Linked DNA regions of Homo sapiens: region 1 is linked to region 2. The links are contacts of gene promoters, found by promoter capture Hi-C in blood cells and fetal thymus (Javierre and others, 2016). All regions are on one chromosome and are shown on one strand. Each heading gives the region's core, a stretch centred on a gene start or on the middle of the fragment in contact. The rest is flanking DNA. Distances are from core to core; before and after follow the strand shown.

Region 1 (3,457 bases), core at 479-2,978, 140 kb after region 2:
GTCACATACATTACTGCCAATATCACATGGCATTAGTTTTTTCTACCACTTTCAAGATAAAACTAGTGGTATTAGTTTTTTCTATACTTTCAGGATATACACTAAAAGGTACTATCGTAATGAAATGCAAACTTAAAAGGCAGGAGCTAAATTTATTTCAGCTTTCTTGGATCACATTATGTGTAGCTCATTTTGTACTATAACATGTGGAATGAATGTTTGTATATCAAAGCCTCATGGTAGAGCAGAAAGACCACAGGACTAGAATCCAGAAGCGCTGAATCCTGGTCCCAAAACTGGTAAAACCTCAGTGTGTGACTAAGAGCAAGTCACGTAACCCAAGCTTTCAGTTCCCTTATCTGTGAAATGAATGACTTAGACTACAATAACTTCCCAAGGCCCTTCCCCTTCTCAAGTTCCATGATTCTTCATTTAAAACATGTTAAATATAATAGCTGAGAGGCCTGTGCTGAAGTTCAAGTCTGATACCAGTGTTCTTTTAATTTTCTTAGAAGTAGGGAAATAATTGACTTCTTTTGAAGCCATTGGCTGGCTGAATTCATAATAGCACAGGTTCAGTTCTCACATATCCTGGTTTTTACTAACTGTGTGACCTTCGGCAGCCTCTCTGTGCCTCAACTGCCTTGGTGATAAAATGGGAGTAATAATAGTGACCACTGCACAGATATGTTATGAAGATAAAATGAGATTATACCAGTACAGTATTTTGTGCAGTGCCAGGCACATAGTTAAAAGCTCCATTTGTGTTAACCTTTGTTCTTACTATTCTTTGTTAAATAAATGTGTCCTTTGTATACAAACACTTATTGATAACCTATCAAAGTGGTTTTCTTACTTTTTCCAATGCCAAGAATCTCTATTTCACCACAGACTCCATGTTTGAAATAGTTTTATTTACTGAACCAAATTTTTCCATCTTAGTCACATATATCACTGCCAATATCATATCAAAATCCAGGGTTCTATACCTAATTTTCAGCCCCAAACCAAAGGAATCCTGAGGTAGCCTTATCATAGAGAAATTAGTTCAATTAAACCTCCTGAAGAGTTAAATATACAAACTCCAGAGACTTTAACTTGGAATCAATAGCACGTAAGCTGTATGAAGTAACAAGATGTGGTTCATAGTCTCTTAAGAGCTCAGAATTTAGGAAGACAGAAAGGCATAACCACCATACTAATTTAGGACAGAAAGAGGAGGAAAGGGAAAGGAATGGTTCAGAGCACAGAGAGAATTCTGAGCAAGGAAGGACTTGAAAGAAATAAGCAGGTGCAACTGCCTCCCTCACCTTACTTCCAAATACTGCCATCTCCAGATATCCCTTCTGAGAACCTAGGATTAGAGCCTGTCCTTTGAGCTAAGAAACTGTCTTTGGAAATCTTATTTATAAATGCAAATATGTTCACTGTTAGAGATATAATCAATCTGATATAAGGGTTCAATCAGTTTCTTAGGGAAGGAAAAGGTTCTAAGGGAACAGAGTGTTAAGACAAGGAAAGTTATGCATTAATGCCTGAGGAGCAGGTTCAAAGGCCACCTGGTAAGCAAGACAGCCACCTGGCTGTGTGGGAGCTGGCTAGACAAACTCTACTCCACAAAGCTCCCAGAGTACCTGGACGGCTGGTGAACCAGAAGTGGGTCTGCCAGAGCCATGGCATCACCATTGCACCTGAAAACATGGCTGCTGCGACACAGCTACAGTATCAGCAGCGGGAAGAGTAATCCTATCACAGAGGAGAGGCAGACATAGCTTCCGTTTGTGGCTGCCCATGTAGAAGAATCTCAATGGTCAAATGAACTAGACAGCAAGAAAAGCAGAATCCAGTAAGCTAATAAGGTTAAACTTGAAAAATTAATATAAACACATGACTTTTAAGAGGAATCCCTAGAGAGTGGTGGTTCCACATCTCAAAGCAGAAATAATCAGGATAGGACTGGAACATCCTGTTGTGACCACGAGCAAGGATATTTCAAAGAATGTCAGGGACGGTGCTAGAAGGACAAGGAAGTGGGCCAGAAAGAGCTCAGACTGACCAAGCTGAAACAATCTGGTTCATCAAAAAGAAAGAGATATTAATCTTGGTTAAGTCTGAGAAAGGCCACAGGTTCAAAACAATAATCAAGAGAATAATATACAGTGTCCAAAAAGGAAGTTGTAATAAAAAAAAGAGATAAATAGCGAATGTGTATTTATATTGACTTTAACAAGTTGGGGAGCATTATTAAAACACAAGTACTTTGTTTCTTCTATATCTGTTTTTTGTTTGTTTGTTTTGTTTTGTTTTGTTTTGTTCTTTGAGACGGAGTCTCGCTCTGTTGCCCAGGCTGGAGTGCAGTGGCGCGATCTTGGCTTATTGTGATCTCCGCCTCCTGGGTCTATTCTCCTGCCTCAGCCTCCCGAGTAGCTGGGACTACAGGCGTGTGCCACCATGCTTTTTTTTTTTTCTTTTAATTGAGATGGAGTCTCCCTCTGTTGCCCAGGCTAGAGTGCAGTGGCACAGTCTCAGCTCACTGCAACCTCCGCCTCCCAGGTTCAAGCGATTCTCCTGCCTCAGCCTCCCGAGTAGCTGTGATTATAGGCACCTGCCACCACACCTGGCTAATTTTTGTATTTTTGGTAGAGATGAGGTTTCACCATCATGGCCAGGCTGATCTTAAACTCCTGACCTCACATGATCTGCCTGCCTCAGCCTCCCAAAGTGCTGGGATTACAGGCATGAGCCACAACACCTGGCCTATATTTGTTTATATATAGATATTTTTATACTATTTATACTACATGAAAGAATAAAGACCAAGAACTTTGAGTAAACTAAATAGTCCCAGAAAACAAAGGAAGTGCCCCAAGATAAGGAAGAACCAAGGAGCATAGGTGGTGACAGAAACACCGGGTAGAAAGAGGGTCCAGCACTGGTGGTCACATCCACTAACTAAGTGGAGGCAGGACTAGAAACATGATCTGAGATGATAAATCAGCCCAAAAGCCTAAGGATCACTGGGTACAGTCAATCCCTTGTCTCCCAGGGGATGAAAACCTCTAGAAAGCCCAACTAATTAAAAAAAAAATATTTAAAAGGCATACATAAGCTTTTAATAATGTTAATGGATCAGGCCAATACATCATTATGACAGGACAATGGATTATACAATGCTGGTCAAGTGAGACTTAAGAAAGTAAATTATTTCAGGGTAATGGGGAAGGGGGGCAGGGGTGGGGACCAGATTGTAAATAAAGACCTACCTGAAAGCCGGGTACTTAAATGCGGTCTGATTTTTTTTTTTTTTTTTTAAACAAAGAAAGTTTAGCCTGATGCCTGTGGCCAGGGTCTGACTCGCCATGGGAGAAGAACCCAAAGTTGCGCCATGTTCTGACTCACAAGTGATCCATCCGAAACCCAGATCTGTAATCATGGCAGGTTTGAAAGGGTATTCTTT
Region 2 (3,329 bases), core at 581-3,080:
TTCTGTCTACACCAGCACTGTCCATATTAACATGCACCACTCCTGCCATGAGGATGTAAGAAGCTTGGCAGAAACCAGTACGCTTTGACTTCACTCCCTAATGAGGCTACACACCTTGCTGGGAGGCCACTGTGAGAAAGGGTGCAGCATTTCTATAAGCTCTGTTCTCCACCCCATGATCCAAATCTCAAACAAAACACTGGATTCTCAAGAGCGTGTCCTCAAACTACATTGTGCAAATTACATAATGGTATGTGAAATCATATCTCATCGCAAACAATTTTTCAGGAGTTCTCGGTGTTCTCTCAAACACTTTCGGCAACAATGCTCACTTATCTGCAGGCAGGCTAGTTACTGCTAAACACTGGGCCCCAGTCTGGAGCTCTTAGTTTTCCCAAAAGCATCTCAAAACTCACCCTGAACAAAGACAGAGAGGCGAGAACATGCTATGTCTTTGTCACCTCTTAATCTTGATGTGTCTACACTTTTTTTTGAGTGTGGGAGCAATATAGAGTGCACATTCTTTTAGCGATAACAAGAAAACCCGCTAGAACTTCTTTCAGCGTAAAAAAAATGGCTCAAAGCTTATAAAATACTATTGTTATTAGGAAATTCAAAAACACTTTTCTCACTTTCTAATTAGCGCCTTTACAGGCTAAAAACAACTCATCTGTGCTGCTCTTGGGGAAAGGGATACAGAAAATATTTGACCAAATAAATTAATCAAATTTATTTATTTGGTCAAGTGGCCAGATACTTAAAAATAGACTACTAGTGGGGAAAATATTCTAGGGGAGCAACCTTCTTGCAGTGGATCAGAAATCTCGTTAAGAAATACTGGGATCCCACAGTGTTCGAGGGAGCCCGGTCCTGGGGAGGGATCTCTCTCTTCAACTCACTTAGAAGGAATGGGTTCTAGGTAACAACAAAATCCTCTCCATGTCCCCTCCCCCGCCACCACGCGGAGCCTCTGCTATTGTCACCATATATCTCGCACCCTGCGCACCTCCTGGACACAAGGCCGGGCCGGGGGCTGCTGGTACTGATTCTCTGCTAAACATGCCAAGGGACTGCCTGGGCTTTTCTCTACATCACTTTTCTCGCCTGTAAAATGTGCAAGAAAAAAACTTCCAACAAAGCAAAACTTCAGCGGCAGCGGTTCGCCACTTTATATTTTAAAGATCGAAACGTTTATTGGTGGAGCAACGTGAGAGCTTTTCTTTTTGGGGGTGGTCCTGGGAGAAACACAATGACAAGTGCAACGCAGGACTGCAGGCTCCCCCAGGGGGCTTCCGCTCCATCCTCCTCCATATCCAACACCCCGTGGCAGGCGGGCTGCACCCTCCAAGATCGAGTCCAAAGGGGCATCGGCTGGGCCCGCGAAGGGGGTGGCACGCCCCACCTAAACGTGACTGGAAAAAACTCCAGATCTCAGCCCAAATGCCAGTTTGGCTTTCGGAGGAAACTGAGGCAGGGGTGAGGAGAAGGCGCAACAGTGACCCCCGCAGTCTCCCCTCGGCGTCCCTCCGCCCGCGCACCCCATTCCCGTGCATCTCTCACCTGGCCTGCGGGCCCGGGTGCGGGCAGACAACAGCGGGCCGCACAGACTGAAGCAGGCGGCCACCAGCAGCAGCCGCCGCGGCCCCATTGTCCCGGGCTCTGCGCGGCGCTGCTCCGGGAGGCTGCCCCGCCTCGGGCTGCTCCGCTTCACCCTCTCTCCTGACTTCTGCGGGTCGGGGAGCCGGTCTTCGCGGCAGGCAGAGCGCAGGGTGCCCACGGGTAAGATCAGGGTCCAAGCGACCCTCGGCGAGCGCTGTGTCTGGGGCGGTTAGCGGGGCGGGGCGGGACTGGGGCGCGCGGTCGCGCGGGCGCGAGCGAGGAAGGGCGCCCTCCGGCGTGCAGTGAGAGTCTCTGCGCTGGAGCCGCTCGGCGCCCCCTCCCCGCGGTCCCTCAGCCGCCGCTCGCAAGCCCCTCTGGCTCTGTGCGCCCCGCCCCGCCCCGCCCTGCCCTACTGGGGGGCCCTGGCCGCCGGCCACTGCCGGGCCTAGAAGTCCAAATGAGAAGTTTTTTCCTCTGGGCACCGTTGATTCGCGAAGCTGTCAGTGACTCACACTGGCGGGGTCCTTGGAATGGGGCCGCACGGCTCGCAGGCTGCTTCCCGCGGCCGTCTCGACCCTCCTGGGATGTGGAGACGTCGACAGTGGACGCCCCGGCCAGGATGCGTCCACGCCCTGCAGCCCCGCAGCCCTGGCGTGGCCTCCCGTCCTCCCTCCCTCCGTGTGGGACACCGGCAAAGTTCAGTTTTCGCTAAAAGTCTAAAAGGGACTTCTGCTTTTGTAACGTGGGGATCACGGATTTAAAAGTTTATGATGTAGTGACAGGGTTGCCCCTAAATGAGAAAGGGCCCTTGAGTCTGGACAGAATTCTTGAACTTTTATACGTCTCTCTTTATTTCGCGAAGTTAGGCGTTTCATACGCCGGGCACTCGTTTCCCCCACACGCAGACTGCGAGTGGAATAGGAAGAGCGGCTTCTCCCGCTTCCCCCCCGCGCGGCCTCGCGGAGCTCTTCCCTTTCCCGCGCCGCCCGCCGGGGTCACCTGCGCATCTGGGAGGAGGGCGCGCGTCTGCCGGTGAGGCCGGCGTTCTAGGGCCGCGGGCGCCCAGGAGAGAAATGGCCTGGTAACTTTCCAAGTGTCCTTCACACGTTCTTGAACGATATTACAGTTTGTTTTGTTTTTGAGGCAGGGTCTTGCCCTGTCGCCCAGGCTGGAGTGCAGTGGCGCCAACACGGCTCACTGCAGCCTCGATCTCCCTGGCTCAGGCCACCCTTTCGCCCCAGCCTCCGGATTACCTGGGACCACAGAAAGGCGCGCGCCACCATGTCCGGCTAATTTCACTGCTGGCCTCAAGCGATCCTCCTGCCTCAGCCTCCTAAAGTGCGGGGATTACAGGCGTGAATCACCGCGCCAGGCCTGATATTAAAGGAGTTTGGCTAAATTCAAGGCACAGGGCGGGGACACTCGCTTGGCAGTCTGCTAAGGGCCCCCAGGGGCGTCGCGGCTGGGGGTGGGCAGGAGGAGCCTGCAGCTTAAGTTGCTTTGCCACTGGCTCTGGTGCGTGCGCCTTTCAGACTCCAACAGGAAATGGGTCCCCAAATAGCTGTTTCTAGGAAAGCTCAGCCGCAGCCCCTTCTCCTCTTAACCCAGCGCACTGATGTGCGGGCATATTCGGAGTTCTGTGGTTGATAAGCTGCAGCTGAGAGCCGGTGGTCAGTTTTCTAAGCCTTTTTTAAAAGTGAATTTCGCACGAAGAGTATCATTCCCCCACT

What was found. The method cuts DNA at HindIII sites, captures the fragments that hold promoters and counts their contacts. A CHiCAGO score of 5 or more calls a contact.
Region 1: a fragment that was not itself captured here is called in contact with the fragment with the promoter of F2R in region 2 in 1 of 17 cell types (megakaryocytes); the score reaches 6.2 in megakaryocytes.

What each region holds. Positions count from the first base shown.
Region 1 is chr5:76,579,295-76,582,751 of GRCh38, reverse strand. All of the region lies in intron 5 of IQGAP2 (IQ motif containing GTPase activating protein 2), which reads right to left. Among named protein-coding and RNA genes, the nearest start is that of F2RL2, 42 kb to the left of the region's middle. RefSeq lists an enhancer at 436-525. The HindIII fragment of the contact is 2,766 bases long and covers 346-3,111 here.
Region 2 is chr5:76,714,627-76,717,955 of GRCh38, reverse strand. It overlaps F2R (coagulation factor II thrombin receptor), which reads right to left and starts at 1,830. Exons shown (of 2, transcript NM_001992.5): 1 at 1,561-1,830. The coding sequence starts at 1,648. RefSeq lists a silencer at 1,775-2,024. The HindIII fragment of the contact is 2,891 bases long and covers 587-3,329 here.